Linked DNA regions of Homo sapiens: all the other regions are linked to region 4. The links are contacts of gene promoters, found by promoter capture Hi-C in blood cells and fetal thymus (Javierre and others, 2016). All regions are on one chromosome and are shown on one strand. The core of a region is centred on a gene start or on the middle of the fragment in contact, and the rest is flanking DNA. Distances in the headings are between cores, read along the strand shown. Region 1 overlaps ILKAP (ILK associated serine/threonine phosphatase). Region 2 has its middle 46 kb from the start of UBE2F-SCLY. Region 3 overlaps PER2 (period circadian regulator 2). Region 4 holds the start of SCLY (selenocysteine lyase). Region 5 overlaps RBM44 (RNA binding motif protein 44).

Region 1 (3,081 bases), core at 56-2,555, 140 kb after region 4:
TTCTTTTAAAAACAAAAGCTTTAATTAAAAATTTATAAACTTAAGGGAATGAAATTTCTCCCGGGGTCTTTGCGTCAGAAGTACCTAAAATACACAAGAAATTCCTGAGTTAACAAAAAATAACTATTTTGCTTTATATCCCTAATACAAATGGGAAAATGTATTCTAATCCTTCAGGATGACCCTAAACAAATTAAGGAATTGCAAATACTTTCACTTTTCTTACAAGTGACATAAAGACTCTATTAGAAGTATACAAGAAGCAGAAGAAAGCCATTAAAAAGTATTTAGTATGGCCAGGTGTGGTGGCTCACACCTATAATCCCAGCACTTTGGGAGGTCAAGGTCAGGACTGAGGTCAGCAGTTCAAGATGAGCCTGACCAACATGGTGAAACCCTGTCTCTCCAGAAATACAAAAATTAGCTAGGCATGGTGGCGGGTGCCTGTAGCCCCAGCTACTTGGGAGGCTGAAGCAGGAAAACTGCTTGAACCTGGGAGGCGGAGGTTGCGGTGAGCTGAGATAGCGCCACTGCACTCCAGCCTGGGGGACAAAACCAGACTCTGTCCCCAGCACCCAAAAAAAGTATTTAGGATAACCATTACTCAATGTATTAATCCACTTACAAGAATTCCTAATATCCCGAAGTAGGTCACTTTTGCCCAAACATTGGGTCTAACAATCACAACGCCCGTTCTCCGGACAGACTCAAAAACCACATGAGATGTTCCAGACAATCACGCTGCATTCAGTGGTGTCACAGAGCCAGATGTCTTAGGACAAGGGAGGGGACATTTACAGGTAACAGCCCAACATGAAGAGCAAACAACCCTTCCGCTTGTACCAGGTCATATTTTAACTTTTGAATTAACTTGCCCATCTAAATCAGGTCTTTCCACTGCCACTGTACAAGGGAGGAAGTCTTCTTTTACCCAGGTAATAAATATATTTTCAGTTCTTGTAAGCATTCCTCACAATGCAACTTACAGCTTAGTATTAATACTAGCCTGGCCGCCTCTCCTCTGGCTACAATTCAGTCAGATGGTGCCCCAAACTGAGCCCCATCCCCAGAGAACTGCCTATCACCTTCTTTCTCACTCTGGAATACTATGAGAGGTATTTCAATTAAACACAATGAGACCATCCTACATTTTGCTGGCCACAACTGGGAATGGCTTCTAAAAATGATAATACTGCCTGCCTGTCAGGCACTATTCTAAGAGCTCCACACATCTTCTCATTTAATTCTTATGAGATAGGTACTATTATTATTTACCGATGAAAAAACTGAGGCACTGAGGTCAATTACCTGTTCAAGATCACAGAGCCAGTAAGGAGTGGAGTGGGGATTCAAAGCCATGCAGTCCGTGCTTTTAGTGAGGTACTATGCTGCCTCCATACATGGGCACCCTTCCAGAAACTTCATAAACATCAACTCATTTTACCCTTACAACAATCCTATGATGATAATCCTGAGATTTTATAAAATCTCTGGAAATAATTTTTGCATCATCAAAAGAATCTAACTTAGAAGTCTGTATGTGGATTCTTTAAAAAAAAATCTATAGGTCATAGATACATAAGGAAACTACTGATTAGTCAAAACCTTAGATTTTTTTTTTTTTAAATTGAGACAAGAGTCTCGCTCTGTGAGCCAGGTTGGAGTGCAGTGGTGTGATCACAGCTCACTGCAGCCCCAACCTTCTGGGCTCAAGCAATCCTCCCTCGTCAGATTCCCGAGTAGCTGAAACTACAGGCATACACCACCATGCCCAGCTAATTTTTTAACTTTTTGTAGAGACGGGGTCTCACTATGTTGCCCAGGTTGGTCACGAACTACTGTACTCAAGCAATCTTCCTGCCTCAGCATCCCAAAGTGCTGGGATTACAGATGTGACCCACTGCTCCAGGCCCTTACATTCTATTTTGAATAAACTGAAATTCAAAGCATTGGGGGCTGCAATCATTGGACAAAGTGTGACCCTGACCTAAAAATCTGGAAGAGGCCCCTCCCCTAATCTTAAAAATATTAGAACCCTAATAAGAATACAAGACTAAAAATGTCCATTAATCATAGTTAATCTCATCTAGAACTTTTTTTTTTCCTCAGTTATCTACATTCTGGAGCTAAGTCTACTGGAAGTTATATACTATGCTGAGAAAAATACCCTTGGGTTGATCATATTCAGGTTAAAGGTTGCTGTATCCAATAAAGTTAAAAAAGGATGTTAAAATATTTTGGCTAAATTGTTTTTTATACCTCAATTTTTTCAACTATAAAATAAATCCAGGTGTTTTCCAAACACCACAGAGGTATTATCAGAAAAAAGGGGGGACAGGTTCCGCCACACCCCCCAACCACAGTATGAGTTTAGTGTATCCTTTCCACTTTCCTTAATGCTCATGCACATGGACTCATGCATTTTAATTTGTAGAAGACAGAGTCATACTCTACACAATACTCCACATATAGTGTTCACATAACCCATCAAGGCATGCTCCAGGCCAACACACCCAAGTCTAATTCATCCTCTCCAACAGCCACACATGGGAAGCATCTCCACTCATTCGACCAGATCCTTACTGATGGGTTCAAGCTTTTCCCAGTTCTTCATATGATAAGTGACGCCACAATCAACAATCTGATACATGTATTCCTGCTTAATCTGCTAGACTGCTCGTCAAAGGATATTAGTTTAAATCTGATAGAAGCCAAAATCTGTTCCCCAAAAAGTTGTAATTTTCACTCCCAAAACACTTTATGAGAAAGTCTACTTCGCTACACATTCACCAATGTTACCAACTGTTGCTAATCTGATGGGTGAAAAGGTAAATAGTTCCTCAGCAACTTTCTGTTGATGGGCCATTTGTATTCCTTACCTCTGAACTGGGAGGATACATCCTTTGACCATTTTTCTAGTGGGTTTTATTTTTTCCCATCAATTCTGTGAGCCTTTCTTATACCCTTAGTAATGTATATTGCAATTATTTTCTCGGTTTGTCTTTTGCCTTTATAGTATCATTTGTCCTGCAGAAATTTTAAATTTTTACATAGTCAAATTCACTTTTTTATGACTTTTTT
Region 2 (2,860 bases), core at 213-2,712, 140 kb before region 4:
GATGACTTAGCATTGGTCACATGCCCTATTCCAAGGATGGTGTTTGAGCTCCAAAGAGCAGGCCACCTGCCAGAGGACCCGTATTTTTTGGGGACAGGGATGAGAATGGGCAAGAAGAGAGCAGATGTAGGCTGGGAGCCTTGAGAACGGGAGAGGAAAGAGGTTTCAAGACATTTTTCTCTAGATTGTGAACATAATTGCACTTTGGTTCCCCCTAGAACAAATTTAAGAAGGACCTAAATTGCTTTTCAAGGCTATTTTAGGAAGTGAACTTGGATCTGACTTTGTTTTTTTTCTTCCTGGGCCTGTGCGGAGGTGGACCATGGGTGCCCATCTTTATTTGGGTTACAAAAATGTGAAGGGGGTGCAGAGGAACAGCGGGAAGAGAGCAGCCCTCCAAAGCATCCCTCTCTGCCCCACCCCAGCCACAATCCTTGGGCCTGGGGACAGTGCTCATGCCCCCACGTGAATCGCTTCCCCACAGACACTCTGACAGGAGGCCGGGGAAGTTTGCTTCCTGTTTTCTGGGGGCAGGGCGGGAGGCAGACAGGGGTGACTGGAGGTGCATGTCCATGACAGGTGGCAGCTGCTTTCCATCCCCAGTGCATCCTGCCATGAGAGCACCTACATCCCAGCCCTGCCCCTGCCACCTAAGATCTCTTCTTACAAGAAGCAGTGCCACCTTTAAAATGTTTCAAATGGTCAGGCCGGGTGCAATGGCTCCCACTTGTAATCCCAGTACTTTGGGAGGCTGAGGAGAGCAGATTGCTTGAGCTCAGGAGTTCGAGACCAGGCTGGGCAACACGACGAAACCCCATCTCTACCAAAAATACAAAAACTTAACCAGGTATGGTGGCGCACACCTGTGGTCCCAGCTACTCTGGAGGCTGAGGTGGGAGGATCACTTAAGCCTGGAGGTGGGAGGCTGCAGCAAGCCAAAATCATGCCACCGCACTCCAGTGTGGGTGACGGAGCAAGACCCCATCTCAAAAAAAAAGTTTCAGATGGTCATAGGTGTGAAAGTATATAATGTAAATAAAATGTTTTAAAAAACAATATTTTTAAAAGTTGTAGCATAGAAGTGATGGCACCAAGCTGCCTTAGTTGAAACCAAATCCTGGCTGTGCCGATTAAAAATGGTGAGGCAGGCTGGGCACAGTGGCTCACGCCTGTCATCCCAGCACTTTGGGAGGCTGAGGCTGAGGCTGGAGGATCACTTGAGCCCAGGAGTTTGAGACCAGCCTAGGCAACATAGTGAGACCTCATCTCTACAAAAAAATTTAAAAAATTAGCTGGGTGTGGTGGCATGTGCCTGTAGTCCCAGCTACTCAGGAGGCTGTGGGGGAGGATCGCTTGGGCTGGGGAGGCAGTAAGCCATGATCACACCACTGCACTCCAGCCTGGGTGACAGAATAAGACCCCATGTCAAAAAAAAAAAAAAAGAAAGGAAGGAAGAAAGGCGAGGCAAGCTCCTCAACCCTCTGGGCTTCAGTGTCATCGCCTGCAGAGTGCTGGCCATGGACACTTCAGGGACTCACAGTGAAGACAGCCCTTGGCCATGTGGCAGGCACATGGCAAACGCTGCTAACCGGGGCCATAGTGATTCACTTTCACAGCAGGGCTGGGAGCTGTGGCTGCACGTGCACGTGAACACATGTGGGTAAATGCTCCCGTCTCTCAGTGTTCCCAGCCCTTCTGCACAGAAGGTCGGGTGAGTCAAAAGGAGAATAATCGGTGATCATAATGATAGGAAACGATCGAGTTTGGGGATTGTCTCCTCCTCCTCGGGCTCGGCTGAGGATAAAGCAGTGCAGTCGGAGTCTGCCCAAGCTGCTGCTATAACAGGCTGGGGACTTAAACAACAGAAGTGCGTTTCTCGCAGCTGTGGAGGCTGGAAGCCTGAGATCAAGGGGTCGGCAGGGTTGGTTCCTTCTGATGCCTCTCTTCTTGGCTTGTCATTTCCTCCCTGCCTCATATGGTCGTCTTTCTGTGCCTGCATCCTAATCTTTTTTTTTTCTTTTGAGACAGGGTCTCGCCCAGTCACCTAGGCTGGAGTGCAGTGGCGCAATCTCCGCTCGCTGCAGCCCCCACCTCCCGGGTTCAAGCAATTCTCCCACCTCAGCCTCCCAAGTAGCTGGGATTACAGGTGTGTGCCACCACGCTTGACTAATTTTTGTATTTTTAATAGAGATGGGGTTTCACCATGTTGGCCAGGCTGGTCTTGAACCCTTGACCTCAGGTGATCCACCCATATTGGCCTCCCAAAGTGCTGGGATTACAGGCATGAGCCACTGCACCTGGCCCTAATCTTCTCTTCTTATAAGGGCACAGTCACATTGGGTTAGGGCCCACCCAGTGACCTCATTTAACCTTAGTCACCTCTGTAAAGACCCTGGGTCCAAACCCAGTCACATTCTGAGGTACTGCTGGTTAGGACTTCAAGATGTGAAGTCACATTCTGAGGCAAGGACACAACTCAGCCAGGACAAGAGCCACTTCCCCAACCATAAAAGTGTCACCCAGGGCAGTGGGCTTTTCTACCTGACCCAACACAGCCAATTTAAGCTGGAATGGAATTAAAGTGTTGTAATTCACGTGAAAAGTCATGGAAAACGGCACTGCAGTAAGGCATTGGCTACGGAAACATCACAAGATTGAATAAAGACCTGCTTTGCATCAACGCACATCATGGCACGTTCTCATTGTGGGAAAATGTGGTTTAATGAGGGAGACACGGGGAGGGGCAGAAGACCTCAGGGAGATTCCAAAGAGGATTCCCAAGCAGGTGCATTCACGGGCATTGGTGAAAGGCAGCAGGGGCTTGTCATCCCGCTTCTGAAAAATGGGCAACTCTCCACTG
Region 3 (3,187 bases), core at 335-2,834, 180 kb after region 4:
GAAACTCTGAGAGCTTATTTACATATCTCTTCGGGAATATATTAAAAAGAAGGCTCAGTTTAAAATAGAGAAAAACTGTTTAACACCTGTGTAAGCACACACACTAAAGAAAACATGACTTGATGCTTGGCATCACGTAAACAAATTCACAAGATGATCCTATTAAGTCAACTGCTTGGCACGCGCTGAAGCTACAGTTAACAATCAGTGAGCACATATTAAATGATAAAATAATGCTGATGGTAAACATTCATAACAGCAGAGTAAGATTTTGGCAGTTTTGTGTTTCGGTAACATAACTGTAACCTTAGATGAACACCTATCCCTTCATGATCTGACTTTAGAGGCAAGGAGTTTGTAACATCTAATGGCCATAAGAATGCAGACTGCTACCTTATCATAGGCATAGGCAGCTGATGTTACTTTGTAAATTAACGAAAAATTAAAGTGTTCTTGTGTTTATGAAGAATAGGTTTAATAGTCAGGCATAAGATGGTTTTACGATGAAAACCTAGTGGATTACAAAGAGATTTCACCTCCATCAAAAAACAGAAAACCCTGGTCCCAGTTGGGCGTGGTGGCTCACGCCTGTAATCCCAGCACTTTGGGAGGCCGAGGTGGGTGGATCGCTTGAGGTCAGGAGTTCGAGACCAGCCTGGCCAACATGGTGAAACCCTGTCTCTACTAAAAATACAAAAAATTAGCTGGGTGTGGTGGCAGTCGCCTGTGGTCCCAGCTACTCAGGAGGCTGAGGCAGGAGAATCGCTTGAACCTGGGAGGCAGAGGTTGCAGTGAGCCAAGATGGCGCCACTGCACTCCAGCCTGGGCAAAAAGAAACTCCATCTAAAAAAAAAAAAAAAAAAAAAAAAAAAAGAAAACCCTGGTCCCTTTTAAGCCTCATAGTCTTGGTCCAATTTTAAGTCAACTGTTCTTCAGTGATAACTTTGAATTTCCACCAGGGACCAATATTAAATTTTCTGAACCATCTTTGGAATATACAATGCAACATGAGGTTTTGTAAAAAGCCGGGCAGACTGGCCTCACTTTTCCCCAAGTGTCCAAATGACCTAAAAGTGCTGGGGACACTGGCAGAGGCCTGAAGCTGCTCCGAGAGAGGTCGGGCTCATGAAAAGAATGAGGGCTGTGCACCCAACCCAGGGTGCAGTGGGAGAGGTGAGCTCACTGCACCCCTGAAAATACAGATGCAGTCGCAAGCTGTCAGACTGAGTGGCAGTGGCTGCTCTCGGCCAGGAGATGTGATGTGGGCTTGGCTGGGTGGAAGCAGATGTCTGGGTGGTTCCAACGGAAGAAAACCAAACAGGACTGGGTCTCACATGTGTTGGTCACAGCCTGGTTTGCAAAGGGAAGTCACCATAAAGAGATGACTGATGACATATTTTAATCTCCATATTGGCCATCATGGTCTGAAAAGGAGACAAGAATAATGCAGAAATATACAGAGGGTCTGTCTGCGTGTGCATTCATCCGATGGAGTTGGCCACACAAACCACTAGGCTTCTTTAGTCCAGAGCAAATGTTTCAACTTTGTTCACTACAAACAAAACCTATGTCAGACTGAAATATTGACCACACCAGAAGCCAAAGCTGTTGGTTTGCCAAACAACGCTTCACACCATTTAATGTGAAACGTTTTGAAATAAAACTAGGAGAGGCTGCTATCTCCATTTGGTATGTATAAAAAAACACTCTACCTTGACTAAATGATAATTCAGATAAAAAGCAGTCCCCAAGAGAGGACAAAATTTGATCTGATCCAAACACCCTGGGAAAGCTCTGGAAGCCAGAGTCCCCAGCTGGTGCAGCAGACAGAGGTCTCGTCACAGTCACAGGACTTCTGGGAGCACTGAGGCAACTTCCCTGACACTAAGAGGCGCTTAGTCTTTCTCAAGTTAAATAACAACTAAAATCTCTTCCCCATCCCACAAAACTCCACATATATATTTTATATATAAAAACATATTTCTTTCCGAACTCTCCCCACTCTCCACAGTTTTAAGTCGCCCCTTCAGAAAACTATGTTGTTTTTTTTTCTAAAACAAAAAAAGCAACATGAGCATATGTGTCCATTTCAGTGGAAACAGCCATGAAGATCTTTCATCTCTTCCAAGCACCACCTGGTGTACCTCGCTGGCTGCCGGGCTGAGGTGGGGCAGGGGTTACGTCTGCTCTTCGATCCTGTGATTCAAGGGGGATCCATTTTCGTCTTCTTTGGTGTCCGACACTTCGCTGAGTCCCAGAGAAGGAATATCTTCCTCATATGGTATGCAAATATTACCTTTTTCCTTGTTTTCACAGTAAACACATTCCTTAAAAGAAAAAAAAAGAGAAATCAGTAACAAACTTGAGATCTGAGTTGTTACAAAAGTCATTCAAATTGGCCGGGCGCGGTGGCTCACGCCTGTAATCCCAGCACTTTGGGAGGCCGAGGCGGGCAGATCACGACGTCAGGAGATCGAGACCTTCCTGGCTAACACGGTGAAATCCCATCTCTACTAATAATACAAAAAATTAGCTGGGCGTGGTGGCAGGCACCTGTAGTCCCAGCTACTTGGGAGGCTGAGGCAGAAGAATCGCTTGAACCCTGGAGGCAGAGCTTGCAGTGAGCGGAGATCACGCTACTGTGCTCCAGCCTGGGCGACAGAGTGAGACTCTGTCTCAAAAGATAAAAAGTCATTCAAACTGAGTAAGGTGCAGGTGACCAGGTGTCAGCCAGGAGGTGGCTGGCAGCAAAGGCCAAAATCCCTGTCCCAGGAGCTGGCACTCTAGTAGCAGAGAGAGACAATAACTAAGAAGGGCTCCAGAGGCATAGGGTATATAGAGGACATCTGTGATTTTCAACTGGACATTCACAGCAGGCCAAAGAAAAGGTGACGCAATGATTTTGAAACGTGTCCACACTCTTTGCCACTCCTTCCTCAAAAGGTGGGGCCTAATTCCTTTCTCCTTAAACCTTGGCTGGACTTAGGCATTTGCCTCTAACAAAGAGTACCTGACTTCTGATTCTAGGTCCTAAAAGGCACCTTGGCTTCCTCTTTTCCTCTCTGGGGAAGTCACCTGCTACACTGTGAGGACATCCAGGCAGCCCTACGGAGAGGTCCCCATGGCAAGGAGCTGAGGCCTCTGCCAAGAGCCAGCAGTGTGTGAGAGGCCTGCAAGTGAGGCTCCT
Region 4 (3,089 bases), core at 575-3,074:
ATGTTGGCCAGGCTGGTCTCGAACCCTTGACCTTAGGTGATCCACCCACCTCAGCCTTTCAAAGTGCTAGGATTACAGGGGTGAAGCACCGCGCCCAGCTTGCCTGTAATCTTATACGCCTTTTTAATTCCTCCTTTCTCAACCGTTTTAAGAGTTGACTGCATTCTTCATTTTTTCATATCCCATCTTTGCATTCTAACTTCCATGCCTCTCCCATCACTGAGACTTCTCTCGCTAGTTTATCAGTGCCTCCTAATTGTTACGCACAGTAGACTTCGGATTGCCTCTCAGCCACACTTTACACTATTATGTGTCTTCTTGACTTTTTTGACATTCCTTCTCAATTCCCTTTCCTTTCCTCCTCTTTTGACTGTTCTCATGCTCCTGTGCATCCATTTGCTTCTTAAATGTTGGTGGGCCCTTTGCTATTGGCTGCATTTGGCAAGAAATGAGCTGCGTTTATAGGGAAGAATGAGAGAGAATGAGTCCAGAAATTTGCAGATTTGCTGTGCTGGAAAAGCCAAGTTATTCTGGACCCCAACAGGACACAAAATAGAGAAAGCCCATGAAAAGCCAATTAAAATTCAACCTCTTGGCAAAGCATGCTTGAAACCGAATTTTGGCTCCAGCCACTACTCGTGTGAACTTGGGCAAGATGCCTTTCTGTATCTTGGATTCCTCATACATAAATACCTACCAGACTGGGTTAATCATCAAGATTAAATTAGTGAACACACGAAAAATACCTAGAACACTGCCTGGCATAGTTCAAGGCTCAATTAAAGGTAGACACTATTATGCCAAAAAAACAAAAAACAACAAAAAAAGTGACGGTAGGATGGCTTCGTGAGGATTTTTGCTCATTTCTACCACTTTCTCAACTGACTTTTCTTAATGGTTGGCGGGACACCAACCATTGGTGGATGTTTACACTTGTGACTGTCTCACAGACAACTCAACATGTCCAAAGCTAAACCCATCATCTTTCCCCCTCCCGTCTTCCCTCTTACCCAGATAAAGGCACTAACATCTTCCCAGTCACTTGTCTAATCCTTGCTTCCTTCCTGTCCCTCATGCCCCAATTCCTATTTAACGGCCTAAACAGATCTTGAATTAATCTTTCCTGCGTTTCCACGCCCACTTAGAGTCCCTCATCTCTGGCCCTATTTTCTCAATGCCCTCCCATCCTCTACTCCAGATCCCCTCAAGTCCATCCTCGATGCGTGACTCTTAACTTCACGCCATCCAGGTCCCCTATGGAGCCGCTCCGACTAACGGACGCGCAGGTCCAGCGGACCTGCTCATCACTGTCCAGGGTGGCCTGCGGGAGACCCCCGGGGCCCTGGCCCTGCTGCCGCGGCCCCGGCACTTCCCCTCGAGGGTTCGCGGGGAACAAGGCCGCGCGGCCCCGGCTCTCCCGGAGTGCACGGTCCCGCGCTCATGCGGCTAGAGGGAGGCACCCGCAGGACTGCCCAGCCGCCTCTGCTCCTCAGGTCCAGCTCGGGCCCCGCCTGCTCTTACGCCGACTAACCGGCCGCGGCCCGATGGCGGCCCTGCCGCAGACAGCAAAGGTCACGGGGCTCCCCCGGAAGTGAAAGTGCGGGGATCCGCCGGCCCAGGAGACGCGGCTTCTAGCGCCCGGTTCCCGGGAAGCTCTGTGACGCGCTAAGCCCCGCCCCCACCCGTCACCTGACCCAGCGCAGCCTCGCCTCCCCGCTGGGGGCTCGGCGGCCCTCTGAAGCGGGTGGATTGGCTGGGGTGCTTCGCTCAGCCAATCCGGACGCGCCCGGGCGTCGCGGCCCCGCCTCCTCCCCGGCGCTCTGGGCCCGTAGCGCTCCGCGGGAAGGAGGCTGGATGCCCGGCAGCAGTGGGGCGGGGATGGAGGCGGCCGTGGCGCCGGGGAGGGATGCGCCGGCACCCGCGGCGAGTCAGCCCAGCGGCTGCGGGAAACACAACTCGCCGGAGAGGTGCGCGCCTTTAGGGCAGGGCTGGGGAGCGGCCGGCGCCTGTCGCCGATTGTCCCGCGCGGGAGGACGAAGGGGGCTCCCGGCCTGTGGCCGCTCTCGCGTGGGGCGTCCCGCGCGGGGATGTCCGCGAGGTCGGCCTAAGTCAGGGATGCGAGCTTCAAGGAGGAGCGGGTGCGAGCTGTGGCCCCGCAAGGGCCCACGGAGAGGTGACTTTGGGGCCGAAACCCGAGTGACTTCCAGGGGTGAGGTTTGCAGGTTCTGGGGAAGCAGAGCCTGCCAGGAAGAGGGCACAGCAGATGCGAAGGGCAGGGGACTTGCCGGAGGTGAACCGGCAGAGCCCCTGAGCCCGGGAAGAACTTTGGGGTTCATTCGGAGCCTTATGGGGCCTCGGAAGTTGATCACGGGGCGATGCAATTTAAGTGTTTTGAAGGAGTCCTTCTGGCTGCTTCCTAGAAAGTAGGGGCGCGGGTAGGCATGGGACGAGAGGAAGCCGGGAAGCCAGTTGGGGATCTTGTAACAACCTAGGAGAGAGATGTGGTGTGCGCCCAGAAACGGATGCGTTGGTAGGAAGCTGGTGCACTGGGGCAGGTGAAAGGGAATCAAGGGTTCTCCCAGACTGCTGGCCCAGCTGCAGGAAACGGGATGGCCACCGCTGAGAAGCGCGGAGACCCGAAGCACGTGGTATCCATACTAGTTAAGTCCGAGAAGAGCAGGAGGCAGGGGTATGCATTTTCTGGTTTGTGTGTCTTCTTTCCAGACCCCTCTTTTTCCTTTTTGTGAGCTCATTCGCTACCCATGCTTAGAATATGAGGGGGTCCAGGCCTAAAGCACACACATTTGGCATTCTACCTTGGTTGGAACAAAGTGAAGGGATCTGGGAAAATATCCCCTAGGGAATCAGTGGAGCGAGATTCCCAAGATTTTTTATTTTTTGGTTATGAAGCTAACAAAGTTGAGCCTGCTCATCCAATACTGATAGCATTTTAAGGAAGCAGCAAATAATGAAGCAAAGGAATGTGTAAAGTATTAATCTGAACAAAATAGATTTGTTCAGCCCAGCAGCAGATTGAAGAGCTACAGTCGCTCAACAAACACTAGCTAGCCTAAGGTACTTTGGATGCT
Region 5 (3,182 bases), core at 600-3,099, 230 kb before region 4:
AATTTTTGTATTTTTCTGTAGAGACCAGGTCGTGCTATGTTGCCCAGGCTGGTCTCAAACTCCTGTCCTCAAGTGATCCTTCCACCTTGGCCTCCCAAAGTGCTGGGATTACAGGTGTGAGCCACCACACCCTGCTAATTCCACATGCTTTAGACAGGAAATTGAATTGATCCAGGCTGTGATTTTGATGTTCATTAGCTCAGGCAGCAACACTCTTGGTCCTGTCAGCTGTGGCAGTGGGCCATGGGGTTGGGAGAGAGACGTTATAAAGAGGGCCGTACAGGCTGTTGGTAGGAGTATGTGGATAGGGAAGCTCCTGTAACCATCTTTGTTAAACTATACTCCAAGTTCTCTTTCCTTTCTGGCAATTTCTTGTTCCCTTGTTCTTTTTCTGATTCTCAACATTATTATTTATTCTATTCATTTAGAAAATATTGATTGTCTACAATGAGAAGCAGAATCGTGGTGATTAATAAAAACTCTTCGATTCATAACCTGGCTCTGCCACTTACTCACCATGTGACTCTGGAAAACTAATCTAACCTTTCCGTTTCTGAGCTTCCTTATCTTAAAATGGAGATGAGAGCCATTACCTCACAAATGTTGATGAGCTTAAATAAGCTTAATACAGAAAAATTTTTAGAACGGTGCCTACCATGGAAGATGTACCCAGAAAATATTAGCTGTTGTTGTTATTACTTACCAATAATTTGGCTTCTTTCTTGGAGAGCACTTAACTTCAACTGTCACTTAAACTATTGTATCCCAAACTTTTTATTTATTAAACAAATAGTTATTACATACCAACTGTGTACACTATTCTAGGCACTGGGAAAGCAACAATGAACAAAAGAGACAAAAATCTGTACTCTTAAGGAGCTAAAATCTAGTGAGGGAGATAAGGCAATAAACAAGCAAGTGAAAGATACAATGTTCTGATGTGAAAGGTCCAGTATATCATGTGTCTTGCCCTGACTTTTCATCGAGGCTTTAAAGTCTGAGTCCTTCCTTTGTTGAACTTTTATGGGATTTACAGTGGTTTTCTACAATTTATAGCCTACTTGCAGTGTTAACAGTAACTAATTGGTCATTTTAATTTTGTCTCTTCGCAATAGAGGGTTCTGTTTTATGTCACTATAGTTTTTCCCCCACAGCATATAGTGCACTTCTGGGCATACAATTTGTATTCATTACATACAGCATATAGTAAATACAATGTAAAATATCTCTAATTACTGTGTAGCCTTTCTTAGGTTGGTTAAGAGAATTAAGCCTTAATGCCCTAAGCCTAAAACATTTATTTAATGAATGAATCTCTCTCCTGTGCATCCAAAATGAAACTAGTTATGTCCTATCTTTGAGAGAATTGAGAAAGTAGTTACATCATTTTCTGTGTTCTATGGTTCAGATGAGGAATCTGGTTGAGAAAGCCTTATTTAGACATAGCCTCCTATAGTTTATCAGTAAGAAAAAATGTTGGGTATGTTTTGTACTACATGGCCCTGAAACACAGCTCAAGTAAATGCAATTGGTATAAACAATCCCAAGTTAAAGTAAATTTTTAAGGAATTTTTATTTTATTATTTTAATTTTCAAATATATTATTGTTGAATAAGCGGTATTATCTTTATGTAATGGTCCTTACTGATTTTAAGAAAACTTTTTAAATGCTTATTTAGGGTGTCAAGAAGAATTGTAAGCAGATTGAATCTGCTAAATTATTACCTGATACACCCGTTCAATTCATACCTCCAAATACATTGAACCTTCGTAGCTTTACCAAGATCATAAAGAGACTGGCTGAACTGCATCCAGAAGTCAGCAGGTAATAACCAAAATTATATTTTAACTGCTTTAAAACTTCTGTGTAAAAATATAGTTCAAGTTAATAACTTAGATATATTCAGAATGTATTCCTTTGGAAAAGACAAATACTCATGTATGTTTTCCTTTTTCATAGAGACCATATTATAAATGCACTTCAGGAAGTGAGAATAAGACATAAAGGTTTTCTGAATGGCTTATCTATTACTACTATTGTGGAGATGACTTCATCTCTTCTGAAAAACTCTGCTTCCAGTTAGGAATTCAAAAAACAATAAAGAGGTAAAGTAATCATATTCTTTTGTATTTGAATATTACTTAAAATTTATAAGCTATTGATTTCATTTTCTTTTTACATAAAAAACATATTAAATTTAAAATAATAATATAATCACAAAATAATATGAAATTTTAAAACAAGCATACTGTAATTAGTTAACTACTAAGGCAAAACTAATTACCCTAAAATTGACTGGCTTAAACAACACTCATAAACTCACAGTTTGCAGATCAGGATTCAGGAGTGACTTAGCCGGGTAGTTTTAGCTCAGGGTTTTTCATGTTGCAGTCAAGATGTTGGCCTGGACTGTAGTCATTCAGAGGCTTCCCTGAGACCAGAGGATCTGCTTCTCAGGGGGCTCATTCACATGTCTGTTGGCAAGAGGCCTCAGTTCCTCACCACATAGGCTCTTCCATAAGGCTCTTCAAATGTCTTTGCATCATGGCAGCTGGCTTCCCCTAAGCAAGAGAGAGAGAGAGCAAGATGGAAGCTGCATTGTCTTGTATTATCTACCCTCAGTAGTCGCAGATACTGCAATTTTTACATACCGAAGGTTTGTGGCAACCCTGCATCAAGCAAGTCTATCAGCGCCATTTTTCCAACAATGTTTACCCACTTTGTGTCTGTGTCACATTTTGGTAATTCATACAACATTTCAAACTTTTTTGTGACGCCTGTATGGTGATTGTGATCAGTGATCTTTGTTACTATTGTAATTATTTTGGGGCACTTTGAACTGCACCCATATAAAACAGCAAATTTTATAAATGTGTGTGTTCTGACGACTCCACTCACTGGCTGTTTCCCCATCTCTTTCCCTCTCTTTGGTCTTCCCTATTCCTTGAGACACTATATTGAAATTAGGCCAACTGATAATCCTACAATGGCCTGTAAGTATTCCAGGGAAAGAAAGAGTCACATTAAATGACTCTTAAAAGAAAGAGCTCACTTTAAGTCGAAAGCTAGAAATGATTAAGCTTAGTGAGGAAGGCATGTCAAAAGCCAAGATAGGCTGAAAACTGGGCCTTTTGTACCAGTTAGCCACGTGGTTCATTGTCGTGAAGCCAATGAGGAAAAG

What was found. The method cuts DNA at HindIII sites, captures the fragments that hold promoters and counts their contacts. A CHiCAGO score of 5 or more calls a contact.
Region 1: a contact is called between a fragment that was not itself captured here and the fragment with the promoter of SCLY in region 4, in 6 of 17 cell types (activated CD4 T cells, M2 macrophages, non-activated CD4 T cells and 3 more). The highest score is 7.2, in activated CD4 T cells.
Region 2: a fragment that was not itself captured here is called in contact with the fragment with the promoter of SCLY in region 4 in 5 of 17 cell types (non-activated CD4 T cells, activated CD4 T cells, erythroblasts and 2 more); the score reaches 6.2 in non-activated CD4 T cells.
Region 3: a fragment that was not itself captured here is called in contact with the fragment with the promoter of SCLY in region 4 in 1 of 17 cell types (neutrophils); the score reaches 5.4 in neutrophils.
Region 5: a contact is called between a fragment that was not itself captured here and the fragment with the promoter of SCLY in region 4, in 1 of 17 cell types (total CD4 T cells). The highest score is 5.2, in total CD4 T cells.

The regions. Positions count from the first base shown.
Region 1 is chr2:238,196,627-238,199,707 of GRCh38, forward strand. The region is part of intron 1 of ILKAP (ILK associated serine/threonine phosphatase); the gene reads right to left. Among named protein-coding and RNA genes, the nearest start is that of ILKAP, 5.5 kb to the right of the region's middle. The HindIII fragment of the contact is 2,578 bases long and covers 17-2,594 here.
Region 2 is chr2:237,919,250-237,922,109 of GRCh38, forward strand. No RefSeq gene overlaps it. Among named protein-coding and RNA genes, the nearest start is that of UBE2F-SCLY, 46 kb to the right of the region's middle. The HindIII fragment of the contact is 7,029 bases long and covers 1-2,860 here.
Region 3 is chr2:238,244,198-238,247,384 of GRCh38, forward strand. PER2 (period circadian regulator 2) reads right to left here. Exons shown (of 23, transcript NM_022817.3): 23 at 1-2,327. The coding sequence ends at 2,178. Among named protein-coding and RNA genes, the nearest start is that of HES6, 5.8 kb to the left of the region's middle. RefSeq lists an enhancer at 1,951-3,150. The HindIII fragment of the contact is 6,913 bases long and covers 1-3,187 here.
Region 4 is chr2:238,059,177-238,062,265 of GRCh38, forward strand. It overlaps SCLY (selenocysteine lyase), which reads left to right and starts at 1,825. Exons shown (of 12, transcript NM_016510.7): 1 at 1,825-1,967. The coding sequence starts at 1,879. The region is part of intron 8 of UBE2F-SCLY (UBE2F-SCLY readthrough (NMD candidate)); the gene reads left to right. RefSeq lists silencers at 1,235-1,444, 1,585-2,034. The HindIII fragment of the contact is 10,603 bases long and covers 1-3,089 here.
Region 5 is chr2:237,832,318-237,835,499 of GRCh38, forward strand. It overlaps RBM44 (RNA binding motif protein 44), which reads left to right. Exons shown (of 16, transcript NM_001080504.3): 14 at 1,680-1,825; 15 at 1,961-2,106. The coding sequence ends at 2,084. Among named protein-coding and RNA genes, the nearest start is that of RAMP1, 26 kb to the right of the region's middle. The HindIII fragment of the contact is 2,460 bases long and covers 620-3,079 here.